Linked DNA regions of Homo sapiens: regions 2 and 3 are each linked to region 1. Evidence: promoter capture Hi-C in human tissues and cell types (Jung and others, 2019). All regions are on one chromosome and are shown on one strand. Each heading gives the region's core, a stretch centred on a gene start or on the middle of the fragment in contact. The rest is flanking DNA. Distances are from core to core; before and after follow the strand shown. Region 1 holds the start of OR1N1 (olfactory receptor family 1 subfamily N member 1). Region 2 has its middle 8.3 kb from the start of OR1N2. Region 3 has its middle 12 kb from the start of OR1J1.

Region 1 (4,393 bases), core at 834-3,333:
GAAAACCTCAATGAAAGGACTTGCTTGCTGAAGGCAGGGTCTGCATGCTAGGAAAATATGGCATTGTCTGCCACTGTGTAGCCCTTCTTTTGATGAGACAAACAATCAGCTGAATCATAAGAGGATCTCTTACCCTTCTGGACATGGCTATTAGAATGTGCCCTGTCAGAGGGTGCCTTATCAAGTGCTGAAGTAGGGGAGAAAATAACTTGGACTGTAGCCTCAGATCCCTCAGAAAAGTTGTAAAACCCTGAGATGTTCTTCAGTCAGTGTAGGGTTCAGGGATAGATACATACGCAATAGTTCTCAGATGTTGCTATCCACTTCAGAATACAAACAGTGCTTTAGTAAAGCTATCAATTTGAAGATAACTTTTTATTCAGGTATAGACTCTAAATATAAATCAGGACAAAGAAACACATCTAGATCTGTAAGATATTAATGACAAAGAATTCTAAAAATGAAAAGATAGCTGATTTTTAAAAAGAACACCTGTCTGAGAGCATTGATACCCTGGTTTTCATACCGTATCTTCCTCCAAGACATAGTGTAAACTTTTTCAATCACTTTGGTCTTTTGAACTTTAGCTTATTTATCTGAATCAAAGGGAGGAGTTGGACTAAGCAAAATTTTCTTAATCCTCACTGAGCATCAAAATACCTGAGAAGCCTTCAGTTTTAGTTTTTAAATACAGGTACCTAAATTGTATCCTAGAAATTTAAATTTGACAGGTCTGAGGTAGGGATTATTATTTTTATCTTTATTTATTTATTTATTTTAGACGGAGTCTTGCTCTATTGCCCAGGCTGGAGTGCAATGGCATGATCTCGGCTCACTGCAACCTCCAACTCCCAGGCTCAAGTGCTTCTCCGGCCTCAGCCTACCAAGTAGCTGGGATTACAGGCACATGCCACCACACCCGGCTAATTTTTGTATTTTTAATAGAGATGGGGTTTTGTCATGTTGGTCAGGCTGGTCTTGAACTACTGACCTCAGGTAGATCCGCCTGCCTCGGTCTCCCAAAGTGCTGGGATTACAGGCATGAGCCACTGTGCCCAGCCGGGATCAGGATTTTAAATAAGCATCTCACTTGATTATGATAAACTGGTCTACAGACCAATGCTTGAGACCTCTGGGCCAGGTGATCTTTCAGGTTCTATCTAGTTCTTAAATTTCGTTGTTCTTCTGTAAAACACACATATAAAAGATAGTAAAGGCAAGTGAGACTAAATACGTTAAACTAAGAATACTGAGGGATTAAATATAAATGTGGTCCTAGAAAGTTACTTTCTATCTATATTGACTGATGGTACAGTCTCTGGAAACCATTGCTGTGGGTTTGAATTCTGTCTCAAATATTTATGAGCTCTGGGTCCTTGTACAATTTACTTAAACATCCTTAGACTCAGTTTTCTTATATAAGGGTAAGAATAACAATCTCTGCATCCTAGTGTTGTTTAAGGATTAAAGGAAACAATCTTCATAAAGTACTTAGTAGAGTACCTGTCATATATGTGGCTAACATGTAATATGCGTTAGCTACAGGATGATGATGATGCCAATGACAAAAACTCAAATGCAGGGAGAAATGCAGGACTTCGTATTTTCTTTTTCAAAAGAAATAATGAAAAAATAAAGAGGCATGAGTCCTTCATATGCCCTTCACTCTAAAATGAATGAGGATGTGTCAAAATTAAGAATTTTGTGTGGGTTTTTTGGCTACCTCCCAAAAGAATGTAAAATTTAGCTGACCTCAGTCTACTCACATAGACAGCCTACTGCAAAAATGAAACTAACATGAGGCTATAGACTAGTCTAAGGCATGGTCATGCCAAGGGAGAATATGCCCTGACCTTATTGGAAGGGGACTCTATGTGTAAAAGATTAAATAGTGGTAAAGAGAGGAGAAAGGGGGAAAATGAGACTCTGATGAAGAGAGAAAAGAAGCAGGATCAGAATGAAGATAAAGTCAGGATTAGGAATATAATGAACTTAAAGGGAGATTTGGGAGTCAGCCCACACAGTTGTAGATGAAATCTAGCATTCTAACTGTCTTCCCTCAGCTCCAGATGCTGCAGAGTCATGGAAAACCAATCCAGCATTTCTGAATTTTTCCTCCGAGGAATATCAGCGCCTCCAGAGCAACAGCAGTCCCTCTTCGGAATTTTCCTGTGTATGTATCTTGTCACCTTGACTGGGAACCTGCTCATCATCCTGGCCATTGGCTCTGACCTGCACCTCCACACCCCCATGTACTTTTTCTTGGCCAACCTGTCTTTTGTTGACATGGGTTTAACGTCCTCCACAGTTACCAAGATGCTGGTGAATATACAGACTCGGCATCACACCATCTCCTATACGGGTTGCCTCACGCAAATGTATTTCTTTCTGATGTTTGGTGATCTAGACAGCTTCTTCCTGGCTGCCATGGCGTATGACCGCTATGTGGCCATTTGCCACCCCCTCTGCTACTCCACAGTCATGAGGCCCCAAGTCTGTGCCCTAATGCTTGCATTGTGCTGGGTCCTCACCAATATCGTTGCCCTGACTCACACGTTCCTCATGGCTCGGTTGTCCTTCTGTGTGACTGGGGAAATTGCTCACTTTTTCTGTGACATCACTCCTGTCCTGAAGCTGTCATGTTCTGACACCCACATCAACGAGATGATGGTTTTTGTCTTGGGAGGCACCGTACTCATCGTCCCCTTTTTATGCATTGTCACCTCCTACATCCACATTGTGCCAGCTATCCTGAGGGTCCGAACCCGTGGTGGGGTGGGCAAGGCCTTTTCCACCTGCAGTTCCCACCTCTGCGTTGTTTGTGTGTTCTATGGGACCCTCTTCAGTGCCTACCTGTGTCCTCCCTCCATTGCCTCTGAAGAGAAGGACATTGCAGCAGCTGCAATGTACACCATAGTGACTCCCATGTTGAACCCCTTTATCTATAGCCTAAGGAACAAGGACATGAAGGGGGCCCTAAAGAGGCTCTTCAGTCACAGGAGTATTGTTTCCTCTTAGATGTGGTGACAGCAACATTTAATGAAAAGACATAGGCTTGGAGTCAGACAAACGGGCTTCATTTTGGGGTCTACCACACACTAGCCATAAGATTGTAGTCTGGTTACTTAGCCTCTCTGAGCCTTGGTTTTCTCATTTATAAAATGGAGATAACAGTTTCTATCTAATAATGTAACTTGGAGGATTAACTGAAATAAACTATGAAATGCATTCAGTATAGTAGTGAATAACAGTAGGTGTTCAATAAGGGATAGCTATTATTATTACTATTAGTATTCTTCATTCCTCCCCCAACTCAGAAGTCAAAAAATCTTTTCTCTGAGATATATTTGTTCAATAAATATTTACTATCTATGGTGTGTTGGAAGTTATTGTAAGTGCTAGGGTTATGACACTGAGCAAGACAAAGTCCCTGCTTTCATGACACTTTCATTCTAGGTTATTAATTTGTCGATCATTAAAATTTTGGGGGCACTTGTTTTGTTTGTGGCATTAAGTGGGGAGTAAGACAAAAGAAATAAAGATGGAGGCTGCATTCCATGTGCTGCAGAATAGCTAAAGAGATCCCCATCAAAAGGTTCAAATTCAATGTTTAGGTTTCCATGCGGGTTGCCCACCCCACGGTTGGCTAATGTTTCACTAGGAAGGGGGTTAAAGCTCCTTGTGCTACCTCTGCCCCATGCTGGTCAGAAACGTGCAATGCCACCATCCTTTTAGTGACTATTAGATGAGAGGAACGTGGAAATCCTCTCTCCTTATTTGACTGCAGGTTTGCGTCCACATCTAAAAGGGGCACCAGCAGCTTAAATTAGTTGCAGAGATGGAAAAAATGATGTTTGAAGGTAAATGGCATTCTATCTGTCTCCAAGAATCTTAGAAATATTAAAAATATTATTTTAAATATAAGGGCTATATAGTTTTGATTTCTTACATCTGGTATCACCAGGTGTCCACTGGCTACCTAAACTCCTTCCTCATTTAAGTTTGTTTCTCAGACCTAACCTATTCTAAAATGTTTTATGATTGCTGCACTTTTTCAATGAATACTTATGGAGCATCTTTCATGGAATCAAACTGTTCCAGGCTTCAGCTATTAGTAAGTACAAATGTGAATCATTTAGATGCCACATCTTAGTACGCGAGGATTCCATTTATTTCATGACCTGGAACTGGAAGTCTGTTCTTCTCTCTAGAACTCCTTTCCAGATGTTCCCTCAGAGAGTCCTTGAATGGGATGAGCAGGGCATCGTCATGTAACCAGAGCTGGAGATGGTTGCAAACTTGGAGTTCTCCTGCCCTCATCTCCTTAGTCTACAACTCTCCTTCCATTCTGTTGACATCTATCGCTCCACTGACCAAAGACCACTGACAGTCT
Region 2 (4,393 bases), core at 660-3,159, 34 kb before region 1:
GACAAATGGATTTACATAAAACTAAATTGCATCTGCGCAGCAGAGGAAACAATCAACAGAGCAAAGAGACAACCTACAGGATGGGAGAAAATATTTGCAAACTATGCATCTGTCAAGAGGTTAATATGTGGAATATATAAGAAACTCAAATGTCTCGATAACAACAAAAAAACAAATAAATGATTTTAAAAATGGAGAAAAGACCTAAATAGATATTTCTTAAAAGAAGACATCTATATGGTCAACAAGCTTATGGAAAAATGCTCAGTATCACTAATCATTAGGGAAATGCAAATCAAAATCACAATGAAATATACAATAAATTATTGTTAACTATACTATGATGTATCCATAAAATTTAAAAATAAAAACAAACTTTTTAAAAACACAATGAGATATCACCTCATCCCAGTTAGAATGGCTATTATCAAAGAGACAAAAAAAAAAATAACAAATGCTAGTGAGGATGTGGAGAAAGGGGAGCACTTATACACTGTTGGTGAGAATATAAATTAGTACATCCATTATGGTCAACAGTGTCAAGATTCCTCAAAAAATTAAAATATATCTACCATATGATCCAGTAGTCCCACTACTGGTTATATATCCAAAGGAAAAGAAATAAGTACGTCAAAGAGTCATCTGCACCCTCAAGTTTATTACAGCACTATTTACAACAGCCAAGATATGGAATCAACCAAAATGTCCATCAGTGGATACACGGATTTTTTTAAGTGCTATATGTGCACAATGGAACACCATGCAGCCATAAAACGAATAAAATCATTTTTATTCTTTTGTGGCAGCATGGATGAACCTAGTCGACATTATGTTAAATAAAATAAGCTAGGCACAGAAGGACCAATACCCATATTCTCACTTATTTGTGGGATTTTTAAAAAGTTGAATTCAGAAAACAACCAAAACAGCATGCGAACCCTGCAACGGCAACCAAGGTATCCAGGTGCTGTCACCAGGACTGACTAGGCAGTTGGTATGACACACGGAGAGGAAGGAAGTGCAGTGTGGTGTGGCAGCCCACCTGAGAGCCACACAGGGCAGGGGAGTCCCCACCCACCAGCCAAGGGAGGTGGTGAGTGAGCGTGCTACCCAGCCTGGGAAACCATGCTTTTTCCACAGAACTGTGCAACCCACAGATCAGAAGATCCCACTTGAGAGCCCCTGCCACCAGGGCCTAGGGTCCCAACAACAGAGCTACGCAGATTCTCAATAGCCACTCAGCTAGAATCTGCTTAAGCCTGCTGACTTCCTGGGAGGAGTTGCAGCCATCACCACAGCTGCAACTGCCTGCTGCCTAAGCTGTCTAAGCTCCCTGCGGGAGGGGCAGCAGCCAACACTGGGACTGCTAGCTGCCTAACACACTAAGCTCCCATGGCGGGGGAAGGGCGGCAGCCATCTCTATAGCTCCAGGTCACTATTTTCCCCTGCCGAGCCAGGGAGACTTGGTGGCAAGAAATATTCCCCACAGCCAAACACACCGGCTGTGGCAGACTGCAGCCAGAGTGCCTCTTCAGGCAAGACCCTGACCCATCCCTCCTCACTGGGAGGGCCTCCCTGCAGGAACTCCAACAACTCCCGCCAGGGGCTCAAGGACAGAACTCTCATCTCCCTGGGCCTGAGCCCCTAGTAGAAGGGGTGGCCATAGTCTCCACGGACCAGCAGACTTAGTTTTTCCTACTGCTAGTTCTGAGGAATCTGGGCAGCCCAGATGAGTAAGTTTCCCTCCAGCACAGCATACCCCCTCCACCAAGGGACAGCCAAAGTGCTTCATTAAATGGGTCCTGCTCCCAGTGCCACCAACTGGGTGAGACCCTGCAACAGGGGTTGTCAGACATTTTATACAGAAGCATTCCTGCTGGCATTAGGTCGGTGCCCCTCAAGGTCAGCGATACCAATGGAAGGAGCAGGCACCCATCTTTACTGTTCTCCAGCTTCCCCCAGTGACATCTCCAGGTGCAGGAGTGAACCAGATGAATAAGGCCTGAAATGAACCCCCAGCAAACCACAGCAGCCCTACAGAAGAGGGACCTGACCACTGAAAGAAAAACAAACAGAAAACAACAACAGCATGAACAAAAAACGTCCCCACAAAAACCTCATCCAAGGGTCAGCAGCCTCAAAGATGGAAACTAGACAAACTCATGAAGATGAGAAAGAATCAACGAAAAAACGCTGAAAATCCAAAAGGCCAGAGTGCCTTTTCTCCTCCAAATGATCACAACACCTCTCCAGCAAGGGCGTGAACTGGATGGAGGATGAAATAGATGAACTGACAGAGGCAGGCTTCAGAAGGTGGGTAATAACAAACTCTGCTGAGCTAAAGGGGCATGTTCTAACCCAATGCAAAGAAGCTAAGGACCTTGATAAAGGCTTACATGAGCTGCTAACTAGAACAATCAGGAACATAAATGATGGAATGGAACATAAATGATGTGATGGAGCTGAAAAACACAGCACAAGAACTTCATGAAGCATACGCAAGTATCAATAGCTAAATCGATCAAACAGAAGAAAGAATATCAGAGTTTGAAGACCATCATGCTGAAATAAGGCAGGCAGACAAGATTAAAGGAAAAAGAATGAAAAGGGATGAGCAAAACCTCTGAGAAATATGGGACTATGTAAAAAGGCAGAACCTATGATTGATTGGAGTACCTGAAAGAGATGGGAAGAATGGAACCAAGATGGAAAACACACTTCAGGATATTATCTAGGAGAATTCCCCAACCTAGCAAGACAGACCAACATTCAAATTCAGGAAATACAGAGAACTCCACTAAGATACTCCATGAGAAGATCAACCCCAAGACACATAATCATCAAATTCTCCAAGGTCGAAATGAAGGAAAAAATGTTAAGGGCAGCCAGACAGAAAGGCTTGGTCACCTACAAAGGGAAACCCATCAGACTAAGAGAGGATCTCTCAGCAGAAACCCTACATGCCAGAAGAGAGTGGGGGTCAATATTCAACATTCTTAAAGAGAAGAATTTTCAACGCAGAATTTCATATCCAGCCAAACTAAGCTTCATAAGTAAATGAGAAATAAAATCCTTTCCAGACAAACAAATGCTGAGGGATTTTGTCACCACCAGGCCTGCCTTGCAAGAGCTCCTGAAGGAAGCACTAAATATGGAAAGGAAACACCGGTACCAGCCACTGCAAAAACACCAAAATATAAAGACCAACGATACTATGAAGAAATTGCATCAATTAGTGTGCAAAATAACCAGCTAGCATCATGATGACAGGATCAAATTCACACATAGCAATATTAACCTTAAATGTAAACGGGCTAAATGCTGCGATTAAAAGACACAGACTGGCAAACTGGATAAAGAGTCAAGACCTATTGGTGTGCTATATTCAGGAGATCCATCTCACGTGCAAAGAAACAAATAGGCTCAAAATAAAAGGACAGGAGAAAATTTACCAAGCAAATGGAAAGCAAAAAAAAAGAGGGGTTGTGATCCTAGTCTCTGACAAAACAGATTTTAAACCAACAAAAATAAAAAAAGACAAACAAGGGCATTATATAATGGTAAAAGGAACAATGCAACAGGAAGAGCTAACTATCTTAAATATATTTGCACCCAATACAGGAGCACCAGACTCATAAAGCAAGTTCTTAGAGACCTACAAAGAGACTTAGACACCTACACAATAATAGTGGGAGACTTTAACACCCCACTGTCAATATTAGACTGATCAATGAGACAGAAAATTAACAAGGATATTCAGGACTTGAACTCAGCTCTGGATCAAGTAGACCTAATAAACGTCGACAGAACTCAGAACTCTCCACCCCAAATCAACAGAATATACATTCTTCTCAGTGCCACATGGCACTTATTCTAAAATTGACCACATCACTGGAAGCAAAAAACTCCCCAGCAAATGCAAAAGAACTGAAAAATAACAAACAGTCTCTCAGACCACAGTGAAATCAAATTAGAACTCAAGATTAAAAAACATTCAAAAACACACAACTACATGGAAACTGAACAACCTACTCCTGAATGACTACTGGGTAAATAATGCAATTAAGGCAGAAATCAAGAAGTTCTTTGTATTCAATTAAAACAAAGAGACAACGTACCAGAATCTCTGGGACACAGCTAAAGCAGTGTTAAGAGGGAAATTTATAGCACTAAATGCCCACAAGAGAAAGCAGGAAAGATCTAAAATTGACACTCTAGATGACCAGTTGATAGTTGCAACAAACCACTATGGCACACATATACCTGTGTAACAAACCTGCACATTCTGCACATGTATCCTAGAACTTAAAGTAAAATAAAAAAAAATAAAAATAAATATTACATATAGAAAAAACAACAACAAAAAAAGTTGATTTCATAGAAGTAGAGAGTA
Region 3 (4,393 bases), core at 1-2,500, 37 kb after region 1:
CCATTCCCACCTTTTATTTGCATTGCTCCTAGTCATGTCACCGAAATCCTCATTATTACTAAATCCAATGAATGGTTTCAGCACTTAACCTTGGCTCTACATTTTTATATTCTCCTTCTCCATCTCTGGTTGTTATTTGATGTCTTTTGGGGGCTTTATTTCTCTGCTACTATCTTAATTGTCAATGTTCCCTGTGGTCTGTCCTCAGCAACTATTCCCTTCCCTTTCCTTGCTTTTCTCCCTTCTCCTTTCCTCTTCTCTCCTCCCTTTCTCTCCCCTCCTTCTTCTTTTTCCTCAGCTTTTACTAACCTCATTTGTTTTCAGGCAATCTCATCCTCCTCTATGTTGACAGTCCATGAATTTCTATCTCTATCCAAAATATATCCACCTGCCTACTAAATTTGTCTCATGGATGACCTATAGGTACCTCATACTCTATGCAATACAACTTCTCAAATCTTTTTCTTCTATATTGCCTTCAGTGAATAGCACAACCATACACTCAGCTGTCCAAGCCATAAATTTAGAGAGGTTTTCAACTCCTTTGTTCTCCTTATTTTCTACATTCTTATCAAAATCAACTCACATCAAAATTACTATATCCATTAGATTCTGACTACGGAGACTTAAATCAATATAGTTCTAACATCATGGTCACTCTCTTATACACACTTTCATAATCTCTTACCTAAATGACTGTCATCTTCTCCTAATGAGTCTCTTTGCTTCTGGTCTTGCATTCCACTACCCCATGCCTGCTCTGCCAACATGTCCTCTGCCCACTGCAAACACATGCTCATTATCCACTCCTGAACTATACCAACTGTGTTTAGTATGATTGTCAATCTGCTGATCAAGTCCTTCCATGGCTCTTTCTTTCCTTTTGAGTAATATGCAAATTCTTCAATATGGCTTCTAAGGTCCTGCATGATTTATTCCTTCTAGTTTCTCTGGACTCATCCTGAACCTCTTCCCCTGTTCAAGTGTACATTTTAGCCACTCTAATTTTTCTGACAATTGTTTCCTAAATTTGCCATCCTTTCTCTTCTGTAGGTCTTTTCCTATTCCTCTGTTTCTCTCCCTTTCACTGCTCTGCCTCTATGTTGTTGACATCACCTTCTACTTGTTTTGATTTTCTTGAGTTTCTGCTTACTTGTAACTTTCTACAAGCCTACTTGCTGTTCTGTGTGGGAAACGCATGAGGGGAGAAGAAAAGACACACACAAAATACCTTTAAGGGTAAACAAGCTTTATCCCACGTAAATGGCAATGCAGATATAACAAGCCAATGATATAATAAGCAAATTGATATAATAAGCAAGTTGCAATGGGAAGGGGATAAAGGAAAAGAGATATATATATATTTACACTCACCACCCCACATTGGATGGGGAGATGCATTTGGGGATGGCCATTAATTCCATTCACCATCTGGGATAATATTCCCTCCCCAGTAATCTAGATGCTTACAAACATCACTGGTTATGAATGTGCCAGACTCCCTGATGATGGTACCCTATCACAGTATTCTCCCCTGCCACCAGTACAATCCTGCTTCAGCAACAAATTAAAATATTAAGCTTACATGTAGAAAAAGCTCTTAATGATAGTAGCACTGGACTTATGTTATCAGATGAATTTGCTCAGCCGTGCACTGTTGTGTTGCAAAATCGAGAGGCATTAGATATGCTTACCACAGCCCAAGGAGGGGTTTGTGCCTTACTGCATACTAAATGTTATGTGTCTATCCCTGACAATTCTCACAATATTACTCTCCTTGCAAAGCTATCGTAGGTGTGGTTTTTATTAATTGCGTTTTTAATTCTCCTGTGCTTACCATGTATCTGTAATCTATCAACTGTGCCTTCCCCATGTATCTGTAAGGGTATTTTCCTACAACTGAGTATCAAATTGAGGCCCAATGTGGAGAAAAAGTTAAATATTAAATTTGAACTCAATTGAACGTGGACACAAACAATGGTCACCAAGTCCGGGAACAGGTTGTGTGAGCCCCTTGAGGCATTCATCCAGCACTGTTTCGGAGAAATCTCTATTTCAATCTATTCCTATACATTGGTTATTGAAAAACAATAGATAATTGCAAAAACAAGTTGATCTTTTTGTGTTCCTTGAGCCCAGTCGCAAAGGGCCCTCGTCACTGGGCCTCATGCAAAACAACTTCTTACAAAAAGAGCTAGGGTCCCAGACCCTAGCACCGAAGCTTCATGAAACCTCTCCTTGTCTGTGCACGGACAAGTGGCCGACTCTGGAGCCCAGGCTGTTTCTTCCCAGTCTGGTGGTGAATCCTCCACAGTCTGGTGAGTTTTGTATCTGACTCTGGAACCCAGGCTGTTGCTTTCCAGTCTGGTGGTGAATCCTCCGTAGTCTGGCGAGTGTAAATATATATATATATATTTATATATGGAATAAAGGAATGGTGTGTGTGTCTTTTCTTCTCCCCTCATAAGTTTCCCACACAGAACACTTGCTTGATGCCTTTAATTTGGGTTTGATGCCCCCCTTTGTGTTCCCACAGCACTCGGCTCTTACCTTCATTACAGTGTCTGATGTGGACGGTTTTGTCGATCTCATTCAATGGATTGGGAACTCTTTGGGGACAGAAAATTGTGTTTTCCCATGGACACAGAGATGGGAACATCACACACCAGGGCCTGTCAATGGGTGGGGGGGTTAGGGGAGGGATAGCATTAAGAGAAATACCTAATGTAGACGATGGGTAATGGGTGCAGCAAACCACCATGACATGTGTATACCTATATAACAAACCTGCACATTCTGCACATGTACCCCAGAACTTAGAGTATAATAAATTTTAAAAAAAGAAACTTGTGTTTTCTTTACTTACAGTGCCTCACAAAATTCTTGCCACATCATATTTATACAATATTCTTCTGAATGAGTAAATGAATGCACAAATTATTCAAAGAAATAATGAAAAAAGCAATCTCCTCCACTTAATTCTCCGTCTCTTTTATATTTTTGCCAACCTGAATGTAGCAGGTTTCTGAAGATTCTCACACTCATTTTTATGGTCAAAGAATACTTTTTGAGCCCTGAGTCTGTTCCAACTATTATTATGTGTCATCACTAACCAAAAATAAATCCTGCATGTATTCAGGTGTTTCCCATGAGGAAAATAAATCTCTAGTCCTTGAAAAGTGTTCTTAATCCTCAGGGACTAGTAACACCTCTCCTTCCAGTTCCAAATTGAATGTGGGAAGGAGGAAGTCTGTATAGGCCAGGAGCGGTGGCTCACGCCTATAATCCAGGCACTCTGGGAGGCTGAGGCGGGCAGATCACCTGAGCTCAGGAGTTTGAGACCACCCTGGGCAACATGGCAAAACCCCATTTCTACTAAAAATACAAAAAATTAGCTGGACGTGGTGGCACACACCTGTAATTCCAGTTACTTGGGAGGCTGAGGCATGAGAATCACTTGAACCCAGGAGGCAGAGGTTGCAGTGAGCTGAGATCATGCCACTGCACTCCAGCCTGGGCAACAGAACTGTCTCAAAACAAAAATAAAACAAAAACAAAACAAACAAACAAAAAACCCAAAAGAATTATTTAAAATATAGAGCTCACTAATATAAGGGAGGCAACATGGAAGAAAGCCTAGAATGAAACCAGGCTTTAGGTTTGAAGTTAATGTGTTTATGTTTGAATACTCATTTAACCATTTACTTTTGAGACATTGTCAAACTCAATAAATGGGAAAAATACTATCTACATCAAATATTATTGTGATGCTTAAAAAATCTTATAGATGTGAAAGTTCTTTATAAATAAAAAAAATCTGTACATAATAAAAGTTCTTATTTATATTCCCATAGGAGTTGACTGTCCTTGGTGTCCGGCAAAGGCACATTTCAACTGGGAATATTAAGGGAAATACAGTAATTAGCCCCTAACTGTGTCTCACCACAGACTTCTGGCACCAGTCCCCTGGGTTCCCATCCAGGCAGGTAAAGGGAGATACTCTTGCTGTAGCCTTGTGGCTGGTGAAAAACAAAGAATGTGCCTCTTCTCCACTTCAGGGTTGAGCTCATGACTTTTCTCACTGTTCCAGCTCTAAGACTTTTGGAGAGAAAATGAATGATTGGTTCATACCAAGGAGCTGACAATATTTGAATTTATCACTGAACTAGGTAAGACCAATGCTTACAGACTCCATTAAGCAGTTTGTGTGTGTGTGTGTGTGTGTGTGTGTGTGTGTTAATCATCTCCTCCAAAATCTTGCAGATGAGTACACATGTGCCAGGTGGTTTATATAATTTTTGTATTACATCAAATAATTTAGGGTGGACATCATTATTATTATTCTCTGGTGTTTGTACTTTCCTCTTTAGGAAAATGTTCTCTCACAGTTTTG

What was found. The method cuts DNA at HindIII sites, captures the fragments that hold promoters and counts their contacts. A contact is called where the count stands out against the background at its distance.
Region 2: a fragment that was not itself captured here is called in contact with the fragment with the promoter of OR1N1 in region 1 in 5 of the 25 tissues and cell types used here (heart right ventricle, mesendoderm cells, neural progenitor cells and 2 more).
Region 3: a contact is called between a fragment that was not itself captured here and the fragment with the promoter of OR1N1 in region 1, in 4 of the 25 tissues and cell types used here (H1 embryonic stem cells, mesenchymal stem cells, neural progenitor cells and 1 more).

The regions. Positions count from the first base shown.
Region 1 is chr9:122,524,983-122,529,375 of GRCh38, reverse strand. OR1N1 (olfactory receptor family 1 subfamily N member 1) reads left to right here and starts at 2,083. Exons shown (of 1, transcript NM_012363.1): 1 at 2,083-3,018. The coding sequence starts at 2,083. The coding sequence ends at 3,018. It also overlaps a transcript of OR1J2 not described here. The HindIII fragment of the contact is 9,333 bases long and covers 1-4,393 here.
Region 2 is chr9:122,559,240-122,563,632 of GRCh38, reverse strand. It overlaps a transcript of OR1J2 not described here and a transcript of OR1L8 not described here. Among named protein-coding and RNA genes, the nearest start is that of OR1N2, 8.3 kb to the right of the region's middle. The HindIII fragment of the contact is 4,575 bases long and covers 1-4,196 here.
Region 3 is chr9:122,487,303-122,491,695 of GRCh38, reverse strand. It overlaps a transcript of OR1J2 not described here. Among named protein-coding and RNA genes, the nearest start is that of OR1J1, 12 kb to the right of the region's middle. The HindIII fragment of the contact is 4,254 bases long and covers 1-3,377 here.